Regions from separate parts of the Homo sapiens genome. Here region 2 is linked to region 1. The links are contacts of gene promoters, found by promoter capture Hi-C in blood cells and fetal thymus (Javierre and others, 2016). All regions are on one chromosome and are shown on one strand. Each heading gives the region's core, a stretch centred on a gene start or on the middle of the fragment in contact. The rest is flanking DNA. Distances are from core to core; before and after follow the strand shown. Region 1 holds the start of ERLEC1 (endoplasmic reticulum lectin 1). Region 2 holds the start of MTIF2 (mitochondrial translational initiation factor 2).

Region 1 (5,732 bases), core at 1,443-3,942:
GTAATTTCAGTTAAATGCAAAGGGAAGCCTTAAGGTTATAGAAGTATTAAAAAAAATCAAAAGACCAATGATAATGACTATTGTGGCTTATTTTTACATAAAGGACATAGGCCTTGTGACAATTCACAGAACACTCTAGATTTTTCTCAAAGTAGCACAGACTTAAAGAAAAAAAAGCCAGATGCAATGGTGACCACCTGTAGTCCTCGCTGTTCAGGAGGCTGAGGCAGAAGGATGGCTTGAGCCCAGGAGTTTGAGGCTGTAGTGAGCATAATCATGCCTATAAATACCTACTGCACTCCAGCTTCTAAAAAAAGAATTTTTTTTTTTTTTTTTTTTTTTGAGACAGAGTCTCACTCTGTCACCCAGGCTGGAGTGCAGTGGTGCAATCTTGGCTCAGTGCAACCTCCACCTCCCGGGTTTAAGCGATTCTCCTGCCTCGGCCTCCCAAGTAGCTGGGAGCACTGGTGTGCACCACCACGCCCAGCTAATTTTTGTGTTTTTAGTAGAGATGGGGTTTCACCACGTTGGTCAGGCTTGTCTTGAATTCCTGACCTCATAATCCGCCTGCCTCTGCCTCCCAAAGTGCTGGGATTACAGATGTGAGCCGCCGCACATGGCCAAAGCATTTTTTTTTTGAAATAAAATTGTTAGATACGTGAAAAGTTGGTGTAGCAAATGCTAAGACTGAAAGAAAATGGAATGACAATTTGGTAGTGACCTCTAAAAATGCTAGTTTTAGTCGCTCGCTTATAGTAAGTTTTCAGGGCTGCATATCAGCAAGTTTTTTTAAATTAAAAAAAACACAGGTGCCAAGAGTAAAAAATTTTAATGACATAATTCTTCAAACATCTGCCATATTCACTCCAAGTGTGCTCTTTGGATACAACAACAGGTATTAAAGTATTCTCTTCCAAGCCTGCTAAAGTTATATCTGATTCATAACAAAATTTTACATAGGTATTTCAATGTATCAATATTTTGTGGCATTAATACAAAGAGAAATTTGACGTCCCAGAAAAATATTTACCTAGATAAATTCAGAACATTTGGTTCACACATGTAATCCCAGTATTCTGGGAGGCTCAGGCACGAGGATTGCTTGAGCCCAGGAGTTCGAGACCAGCCTAGGCAACATAGTGAGACCCTGCCTCTAGAAAAAAAAAAAAAAATTAGCCAGGAGTGGTGGGATTTCCCTATAGTCCCAGCTACTGGGAAGCTGAGGAGATCTCTTGAGCCCAGGAGGTCGAGGCTGCAGCCAGTGGTGACCGTACCACTGCACTTCAGAATGGGCAACAGACTGAGACCCTGTCTCAAAAAACAAACAAAAACAGAAAAACCCAAACCAAACCAAACCAAACCAAAAAACCCCTAACACTTGCAAATAGAAAGCTATGTGGTAATAACATCCATTAACTTGACACATCTTGTTTTGACATCATAGTGTCACTTACTGTTTCAATGAAATGGTAATGAAAGAATATAATAAAGTATTGCAAGTTGAATGCTTGAAGGTAATTGGAATAAAAAGTTTAAAAAAATTTTGCTTTTTCCGGGACTTCAATTTGAAGTAAATGAGTTAATTACTACATGGTAAGTGTCATAAGAGTACAATATTTATTAGCCTGCAGTAGGTACACGTGGACAGGAAGACTTTTCAGCGGTCCACTCCCCCAAGAGGGAATTTTCATTTCCGCGAGGTTACAAATGTTCTTCACTACAGGAAAACTCAACATAGAAGCTCATGTTCTGGGGACTCAAATAACAGTCGTAATACATGAAAACTGTAAAGGATATTCTGCATAAAGGGTCGTTAACATCTCACAGGCCAAATAGCCCTCTCAGAAACAACTAGGAAAGGAAAAAGTTCCCTTGGAGCTGTGCGTTTGCGTATGTCCGTGTGTGTATACAACTGAGGGAGAACGAATACGAGAGAGGGAACTCGAGTCTGAAGTACTGTGGTGTGGGCAGGGTGACATGTAATACTGAAGGAAAGAAGTCTGCTGGTGAAGTAAGAGCCACAGTTAATTTTCCGAAAGGAAGATGAGTAAGTGCACCTGACGTTATTCTACGAAAGCTGCTTCTGCAGGGTGGGAATGTTGGGAAGCAAGGTCTAGTGCGACAGAATTGAAAAGGTGGAGAGCAGGTGATTGCTGGATCCCTAATGCTCAGCAAGGGGGACGCATCCACATAACGTGAGAACGAACGAATGAATGAACGCTGCATAAAAGCAGCTTTGGCTTGGGGAAGGTAAGAGTCTGCAGAGAAGGTCTTGGGGAGAAAAAGCAAAGAAAACCGAGGGAAGAGGCCGAACCCTTAGTGTCAGGAGGAGGGGTGGCTGCGGGGTTAGTGAGGGCACTGACCAGAGAGAACTCGGTGCCGGGCCAGTTGACTCGGAAAGGGATGTCATCGCTGAGTTGAGGAAGGGCTCGGCCGCCGCCGGACGCCTCCAGGAGGCCGCAGAGGACCAGTAACACCGGCCCGCCCGGGACCAGACTCCGTACGCCGCCGCCTCCTTCCTCCATCCTCCGCCGCCGCTTTCTCCAGCCACCGCCACAACCTCCTCTGCTCCAGGAGGAGAGGAGGAGGAGGAGGAGGTGGAGGAGGAGGCGGCGGGACTATAAAGCGCCCGGGTATCACCGGCCCAACCGCCGCCACGTCTCCTTCCGGAGAGCCCGGCAACGCCGCCTCCGCCCCCTTGAGCCTCCTGTCACCGTTTCCGGGGCAGACGACATATCAACATCCGGGGGTCGCGGAGCCGTCCGCCTACGGGGGCCGGGACGTCGCCTGCGCGTCTCTCGTTTTCGGACGGCTGCAGCATCGCGGTGGGGATCGAAAGCGGGGGCTTCTGGGACGCAGCTCTGGAGACGCGGCCTCGGACCAGCCATTTCGGTGTAGAAGTGGCAGCACGGCAGGTCGGTGAGTCTCGGAGGCGGCAGCCGCTTCCTGAAGCCATTCCCGCTGCTCTCCAGTGGGCAGGCAGAGGTTTGACCCACACGGAGTGATAGCGGGAAGAAGACAGTGTGAACCGTGCGGGTGCGGGTCCTTAGATGAGAAAATTCGAAGTAGCGATGAGATGTGAGAAATGGCGGTGTTCCTGACTGACCTGCCTTCTTGCAGCTTTTCTTCTTTTTCTCCGCATTTGGCATTTGTACACTTCATTTTTCCCGCTTGAGGCTTATCTCCATCTCTTCTGCTGTGGACCGTGGCCATCTCGTTACTTAACAGCTTCTGACTAACGCAGGGCAGTTTGTTCAGCGACTGCAACTCTGTGTTAGGGGAAACCTGGGGTGAGGTAGCCCGCCATCTCCCCGTAGGTGAATACCGCAAGCCTCCGAATTTGGCGTGGTGGGCGACTCTCGTGGAATGGGCAGCTAGACATCACAACCCTACATTTTTACCCTCCATCTCTAGATTGAAGTGTTGGGGTGTTGTTTTATCAAGGAAGCTGGTAAGGTTCCTTATGTGAGGTTTAGCGCCAGATGAATGTGTGTGTTTATGAACTAAGTCACGTCTGACTGCATCCCCAAATTAGACAAAAAGTTTTGTTTTTCCCTCCCCCTCTTTAGAAAAAATGCCATTGTCTGTTTTGATCTCCAATATAATGGACATAGAGTGTTGGCTTTAGAGAAATTACCATTCCCTAAAGCTCGACAGTCTTGCTAGATCTGTTAAAGACTGGTCGCCCCCACTTCCTCAGATTTGAACCAAATCAAAAAGCAGGAAGGACAGTCCCATATTCTATCTTAAAAATTTTTTTTTAACATCAGGAATCCATAGTATCAAAGAAGATAACTTTCTTCAGAATTGTTATTCGCTAATTATATTCAGCACTTCTTATTAATGCTTAATGTGATCCAGACTCCTGGGATTTTTGTTGTTGTTGTTTGTTTTGAGACAAAGTCTCGCTCTGTCACCCAGGCTGGAGTGCAGAGGCATAATCTTGGCTCACTGCAACCTCCGCCTCTGGAGTTCAAGGGATTCTCCTTTTTCTCAGCCTTCCGAGTAGTTGGGATTACAGGCGCGCGCCGCTACACCCTAATTTTTGTATTTTTAGTAGAGGCAGGGTTTCACCACGTTGGCCAGGCTGGTCTCGAACTCCTGACCTCGGGTGATCCGCCCTCCTCGGCCTTCCAAAGTGCTGGGATTACAGGCCTGAGCCACTGTGCCTGGCCCCCCTGGGCTTGGTAAAATGCCAAATAAATGGGTTTCTGTCTTTGGTCACACAGTCTAGGCAGGGAGATTGTACAAACAAATAATTGCAAACTATTATAGTAGTAATAGTCAATTTTTTTTTTTTTTAGCATTTATTCTGTGCTAAGCACTAGTCTTAAGTCATGAAGGAAAAGAGATGTATTTGACGGAATAAAAATGAAAACTGTCTGTGAGGTCCTGTTTTAGCATTTAGGGCTATAGTGATTGAATCTGTGTTCAATAGAGCTGATGTTCAAGTAAGAGGGGAACTTAAATAAGTAAAATAATTTCTAGTATTGGTAAGTGCTGCAAAGAAACTAAGGTTATGTGAAAGACAATACCTGTAGGATGTGTTGCTTTTAGTACGTAAGTCAGAGGAGACTTCTGTGAGGAAGTGACATTTGAATTGTGACTTGAATGATGAAAAGAAGGGAGCCAGACAAATTTCTAGGCAGAGGCCCTGAGGCAGGAATGAGCTTGATGTGTTGGAGTGATAGAAAGAAGGCCAGTGTGGCTGGAGTGTAAGAGGAAAGTGGTAGAAGAAGTTTGAGAAGCAGAAAGAGGCCAGGGAGACAGCTCTGTAGGCAGGAGAGTGGACAGGACCCGATGTACATTTGTGAAGATCATTGTGGCTGCTGTGTGGAAAATTGATTGTAGGGGGTGTTGTGGGTTGAATTGTGTTCCCCAAAAAGACATGTTTAAGTCCTATCCCCTAGAACCTGTGAGTGTGAACTACTTGGGATAGGGTCTTTGCAAATATAATTCAAGTAAGGATGAGGTCATACTGAATCAAAGGGGGCCCTAATCTGGTGACTGGTATCTTTATAAGAAGAGGGAAATTTGGATACACATGGACACACAGGGAGAATGCCATGCCAGGAAGGAGGAGGCAGCAAGATTGCAGTATGTGTCTATAAGACAAGGAATGCTAAAGATTGCCAGTAATCACCACAAGCTAGGAAGAGGCAAGGAAGAATCCTTCTTTAGAGCTTTCAGAGAGAGAGAATAGCCCTGCTGACATCTTGATTTCTGACCTCTAGTTTCTAGAATTGTGAGACAATCAATTTATGCTGTCTAAGCTGCTCAGTTTGTGGTCATTTGTTACAGCAGCCTCAGGAAGGTAATAGAGGATGAAAACCAAAAAGTAGTTGAGACAAGTCTCAACCAGTTTAGAAGTTTATTTTGCCAAGGTTAAGGACGTGTCACAGACAGCCTCAGGAGGTCCTGACAGCATGTGCCCAAAGTGGTCGGGCTACACTTGGGTTTTACACATTTTAAGGAGCCACAGGACATCAATCAGTACAAGTCTTTTATGCTTTATTTATAGGTTGATTCTTAAACATTGAAAACTTATCAACTATTTACCATATTGTAATTATACAATCATCATTCGCTATAAAACTATTAAGTATGATTGCATCTGCAGAGAAAAAATGTAATTCTACCTCTGCCAATTAAGGTATCCTATTAGCTTCCTAATAATGGCACCATGTTTGCTAAAATAAACTCATTTTGCTCCTGAAGCTGTATTTCCAGCT
Region 2 (5,732 bases), core at 1,574-4,073, 1.5 Mb before region 1:
ACATCGGTTTCTAGGTTATGAGTTGATTTTTATTTTATTTATTTATTTATTTATTTATTTATTTATTTATTTATTTTGAGACGGAGTCTCGCTCTGTCACCCAGGCTGGAGTGCAGTGGCGCCATCTCGGCTCACTGCAAGCTCCGCCTCCCAGGTTCACGCCATTCTCCTGCCTCAACGTCCCAAGTAGCTGGGACTACAGGCACCCGCCACCACACCCGGCTAATTTTTTTTAATATATATTTAGTAGAGACGGGGTTTCACCGTGTTAGCCAGGGTGGTCTCGATCTCCTGACTTCGTGATCCACCCGCCTCGGCCTCCCAAAGCGCTGGGATTACAGGCGTGAGCCACTGCGCCCAGCCTGAGTTGATTTTTAACTACTGGGTTTAGGCCAGGCAGAGCCAGGCCTGGTTTTGGGCCTGGCGCCGGACTGCCTGTCTTTGATTTCACTTCTTTTTTCTCTCTTAAAACAGGTACTGAGTATAAAACAATATAAAACAATATGAGAGGGTCTCTCTCTTCCCTCAATGGCAAGTATGCTTTTGAGTAATGAACTTCTGTACCATACCAATTACCCAGGGGAGTGGTAGATCTTAAAGACAAAGATTAATTGATTGATTTTGTTTTCTTCTCAAATTCCTTTTACCAAAAGACAGAGATAATAAAACAATATTTATATTTGAGAGGTGGTGATGGTTGTGGTCAAAACGACCAGCTGAAAGTCATAATGTCCAAGCAAGATGAGGGAAAGCTCTGGGGGCAGGCAGTAATAACCATAACAGCAAACACATACTATGAACCAGGCACTACTTATCAACAGTTTATCAACCCATTAAAAGCTTATTGCAGCCGGGCGTGGTGGCTCATGCCTGTAATCCCAGCACTTTGGGAGGCTTAGGTGGGCAGTCACCTGAGGTCAGGAGTTCGAGACCAGCTTGGCCAACATGGTGAATTAGTGAGGCATGGTGATGTGCCCCTGTAATCTCAGCTACGCGGGAGGCTGAGGCGGGAGAATCACTTGAACCCAGGAAGCGGAGTTTGGTTGCAATGAGCCGAGATCGCGCCATTGTGCTCCAGCTTGGGCGACAGAGTGACACTGTCTCAAAAAAAACAAAAAACAGTCTGGGAGAGGTGGCTAACGCCTGTCATCCCAGCACTTTGGGAGGCCGATGTGGGCGGATCATCTGAAATAGGGAATTCGAGACCAGCCTGACCAACATGGAAAAACCCTGTCTCTACAAGAAACACAAAATTAGCCAGGAGTGGTGGCACATGCCTGTAATCCCAGCTACTCGGGAGGCTGAGGCAGGAGAATCGCTTGAACCCGGGAGGCAGAGGTTGCGGTGAGCTGAGATCGTGCCATTGCACTCCGGCCTGGGCAACAAGAGCGAAACTCCATCTCAAAAACAAATAGAAACAAAAACACAACAAAAACCTTATTACAATCCTGTGAACTAGCTACTGTCATTACTATAATGTAGATGAACAAACTGGGACATGGACAGTTGACAAAACATTCCCAACCACACACTAGGAATGAGCTGGGATAGGAAACCAGGCACTCTGGCTCTATTACTCCTAATGCCATACACACGAGCTGACTTAGGAGAAAACAGAAAGTACTGTTCGCACAATACTAACTGGTTCTACCGCCACTGTTCGCTTGCATTTGTTTTTTCCTTCTTGTTAGGAACACGTATCTTTGAAGGAGGTATCATTTCTCCCACAATTCTCCATTTAACGTTTCCTACAGTGTTAAGCACCACCGAGGCCTCTCATAGCCCCAGAGAAGAAGTAATTTGCTTCCTAGAAATCCTCACTGTATCCAGATTCCCTCCCAGAGGAGCCATCAGTTCTCATGGGTGGCACTTTTTCTCCAGCTGATTACACTTTTTTTCTGTACCAGTTAATTTTTCCAACTTCTAATTGAATAAAGGCAGTTTTCTTAAAAAAAAAAAAAAGAGAAAGAAAAACGGAAAGGAAGGAAGAGGAAAGGAAGGAAGAAATGAAGAAAGGAAGGAAGGAAAGAAAGGAGAGGGACAGAAAGAAAAAAAGGAAAGAGAGAAAGAAAGGAAAGGAAAGTAAGAAATGGAAGGGACCTGCAGAAACGATTCACCACGCGCGGCTGACCCTGGGAGGAGCCACAGGTTGAACCAGCGCCTCCCAGGCTGGACGCCCGCCGCGGACACCGCAGACAGTCCCACCCCCAGCGGCGACAGCAACTCTCTGAATTCCGGAAAGAACCTTTTCCAGCGGGACCGGAAGCCCGGCGGGGACCGTAGCGGGGACGGACTGACCTACCGACCATTCTTCCGGGTCCAGAAGGTGATCTCCGCCCGTGCTCAGAATCCAGGGGCCCGGGGCTGTAGGTAGGAGTTAAGTGGGTAGGATCCCTTAACCAGGGTTGTCCGGTGCAGGTGGTGTGTGTTGTTTCGCCTAACGTGTCAGTGGCACAAATCACGCGAACTTCATAAACATTGTGCGTTCGGAAGCCTTTCCAAGATGCATTTAATCCCTGCGTGAGCCCACGTTAGGCATTCACGAAGGCATGTGCACTGTTCTCTCGGAAGCGGCTGGCCGGCTTCCCCTCCTCGCGCGCGGCTGTGGGTGCAGGTCCTCACTTCCCAGCCTCCCATGGGCCCAAGGCCTTCTGGGCTCCAATTTGAGGCGAGCCACCCCAGATCCGTAATTTTTCTGCAGTGATTTATTTTTACCTTTCTGGTAAGTTCCAAAGCTTCCAGCTCACATTCAGACGTTTTCCCTAACGCAACTACGTATTTGCAACATACTTTTTTCAGATTCCTTGACAAGGATATCCTAGCGGCGAAACAACACCGTACTGGGAGTCAGAACGTCTGGGTTCTAGTCTTGACTGCCATTAACTAGCGGTATGACATTGGAGAAGCTTTTTTGACCCTTCTGGATTTCCGTTTCCTTTTCTGTAAAATGAGGAGCTTGGAGTAAGTGACAAGTTTCCTTCCAGTTTTGACATTTGGGTTATTGCCTCCAATGTGTCTTTCCAGTTCCTGCCTCAATTACATATCTGTGCTTTGGTTAATATCTCGTAGGGTCCTTCCTCCCACTCCATTAATCTGTGCTCTTCTCAAATCTGGTTTCATACTGATTTAAAAATTATTTTCTCAAGGAATCCTGTGTTACCTGAGCACTCTACTTCTTGGTCCAGGGGCACAAACGTAAATAAGATATTTTCCATGTGCCATTCTTAGAAGTATTTAATGTGTGTAAATACTATTGAATGAATTTCCAAATCTTCTTTTTTTTTTCTTTAGACAGAGTCTCACTGTCGCCCAGGCTGGAGTGCAGTGGCCTGATCTCGGCTCACTGCAGTCTCTGCCTCCTGGGTTCAAGCGATTCTCCTGCCTCAGCCTCCCAAGTCGCTGGGATTACAGGCGCCCGCCACCGTACCCGGCTAATTTTTGTACTTTTAGTAGAGAGGGGGTTTCACCATGTTGGCCAGGCTGGTCTCGAACTCCTGACCTCAGGTGATCCGCCCGCCTCGACCTCCCAAAGTGCTAGGATTACAGGCATGAGCCATCACGCCCAGCCTGAATTTCTAAATCTTAATGTGTTTATTTCGTTGGCATTAAGTTAGATTTTTCCTTGATCTTTACTCGAATAAGCCTTTTAAGGTAAAATGCTTGCTCGATTACACACACATACACAACCTCATAATTGTCCGAAGGTAAACAAGTTAATGACTTGTGAATATTTTTAACTTATAAGCAATGAATCCTCAAAGCTTATAAGCGAGTATCAAGACATGTGATATGGTTTTAAAATAGCTGATGATAAAGTATATACATCATCTCATTTTCTCCTCTTAGTCTTGTAATAGGAAGGACAGATATTCAAACACTTATTTATTTATTTATTTTTAACAGAGATCCGGAAAATGAGGCCCATAGGAAACAAGTGACTTGCTGAGTCCAGATAACACTGACTGTCAGAGTGAGTGTCCACCTAAGGTTCCTTTGTTGCCTAATAAGATACTTTCTTTGCTATACTGTACTTGTTTCTGTTATCATTTCTTTTCTTTCTTTTAAAAAATATTCAGTATAGGCCAGGCGCGGTGGCTCACGCCTGTAATCCCAGCACTTTGGGAGGCCAAGGCGGATAGATCACCTGAGGTCAGGAGTTCAAGACCAGCCTGGCCAACACGGTGAAACCCCGTCTCTACTAAAAATACAAAATAATTAGCCGGGTGTGCTGGCAGGCACCTGTAATCCCAGCGACTTGGGAGGCTGAGGCAGGAGAATCCCCTGAACCCAGCAGGTGGAGGTTGTAGTGAGCCAAGATCACGCCATTGCACTCCAGCCTGAGCGATGAGCAAAACTCCATCTCAAAAAAAAAAATTCAGTATATTCTATTTACCATGTCAGAACCATACATTTACTATGTCAGAACCATAAAATACACTTTGGGAAGATTGGTTGAAATGTAACATTTAGGCTAGGCGTGGTGGCTCACGCCTGTAATCCCAGCACTTTGGGAGGCTGAGACAGGTGGATCACCTGAGGTCAGGAGTTTGAGACTAGCCTGGCCAACATGGTAAAACCCGGTGTCTACTAAAAATACAAAAATTAGCCTGACACGGTGGCACACACCTGTAGTTCAAGCTACTTGGGAGGCTAAGGCTGGAGAAAATTGCTTGAACCCAGGAGGCAGAGGTTGCAGTGGGCTGAGATCACACCACTGAACTCCACCCTGGGCAACAGAGCGAGACTCCATCTGAAAAAAAAAAAAAAAAAAAAAAGAATGAAATGTAGCATTTAATGCCTAGTTATCTAGCAAAGATCACCCGTCCAGAGCCTTAATTTCTTTGGTCACATCAAATAACTATTATCATTTGTGAACAATTTTAAAGACTATCTAGTAGAAAATATAAATATATTTATATAATATATATGTTGTATATAAATATAAAATATAAGCATATTGTAGAAATGCCATATTATGAGATAAATCATTAAAAAAAAATTTTTTTTTTTTTTGAGACAGAGTCTCGCTCTGTCTCCCCGGCTGGAGTGCAGTGGCGTGATCTTGGCTCACTGCAACCTCTGTCTCCCGGGTTCAAGAAATTCTCCTGCCTCAGCCTCCCAAGTAGCTGGGACTACAGGCATGTGCCACCACGCCCAGGTAATTTTTTTGTATTTTTAATAGAGACGGGGTTTCACCATGTCGGTCAGGCTGGCGTCGAACTCCTGACCTCAAATGATCTGCCTGCCTTGGCCTCCCACAGTGCTGAGATTACAGGCATGAGCCACTGCGCCTGGCCAAAAATTTTAAGGCTTTGTAAAAGTTTATAATTTTGTTCAAGATAGCTTTATATGGTTAAGGTAAACGCATTGAAATAGTTCATAATTTCCATTCTTTTTTTTTTGTAATGCTGAAGAATATATGTGTCTCTCAGTATCTATGGGGCATTGGTTCCAGGACCCCCGCTGCCGCATGCCAAAATTTACAGATGTCCAAGTTCCTTATATAAAATGGCGTATATTTACATGTAACCTAAGCACATACCATTGTATACTTCATGTCATCTCTAGATTACTTATGATACCTAATACAAAGCAAATACTATGTAAACAGTATACTTTAGGGAATAATGACAAGGAAAAAGGTGTACATATTCAGTAGAGACAGAACCATCTTTTTAAAAAATTAAAAAAATTTTCGATCCACAATTGTTTGAATCCACAAATGTGGAACA

Evidence for each region. Contacts are between HindIII fragments. The CHiCAGO score rates a contact against its expected background, and 5 or more counts as called.
Region 2: a fragment that was not itself captured here is called in contact with the fragment with the promoter of ERLEC1 in region 1 in 1 of 17 cell types (total B cells); the score reaches 6.6 in total B cells.

The regions. Positions count from the first base shown.
Region 1 is chr2:53,784,004-53,789,735 of GRCh38, reverse strand. ERLEC1 (endoplasmic reticulum lectin 1) reads right to left here and starts at 2,692. Exons shown (of 14, transcript NM_015701.5): 1 at 2,364-2,692. The coding sequence starts at 2,525. ASB3 (ankyrin repeat and SOCS box containing 3) reads left to right here and starts at 2,783. Exons shown (of 10, transcript NM_016115.5): 1 at 2,783-2,915. The region is part of intron 1 of GPR75-ASB3 (GPR75-ASB3 readthrough); the gene reads left to right. RefSeq lists enhancers at 2,700-3,119, 2,635-3,293. The HindIII fragment of the contact is 9,655 bases long and covers 1-5,732 here.
Region 2 is chr2:55,265,807-55,271,538 of GRCh38, reverse strand. It overlaps MTIF2 (mitochondrial translational initiation factor 2), which reads left to right and starts at 2,308. Exons shown (of 16, transcript NM_002453.3): 1 at 2,308-2,370; 2 at 2,800-2,961; 3 at 3,904-3,970. RefSeq lists enhancers at 1,447-2,270, 2,216-2,365. The HindIII fragment of the contact is 171 bases long and covers 2,738-2,908 here.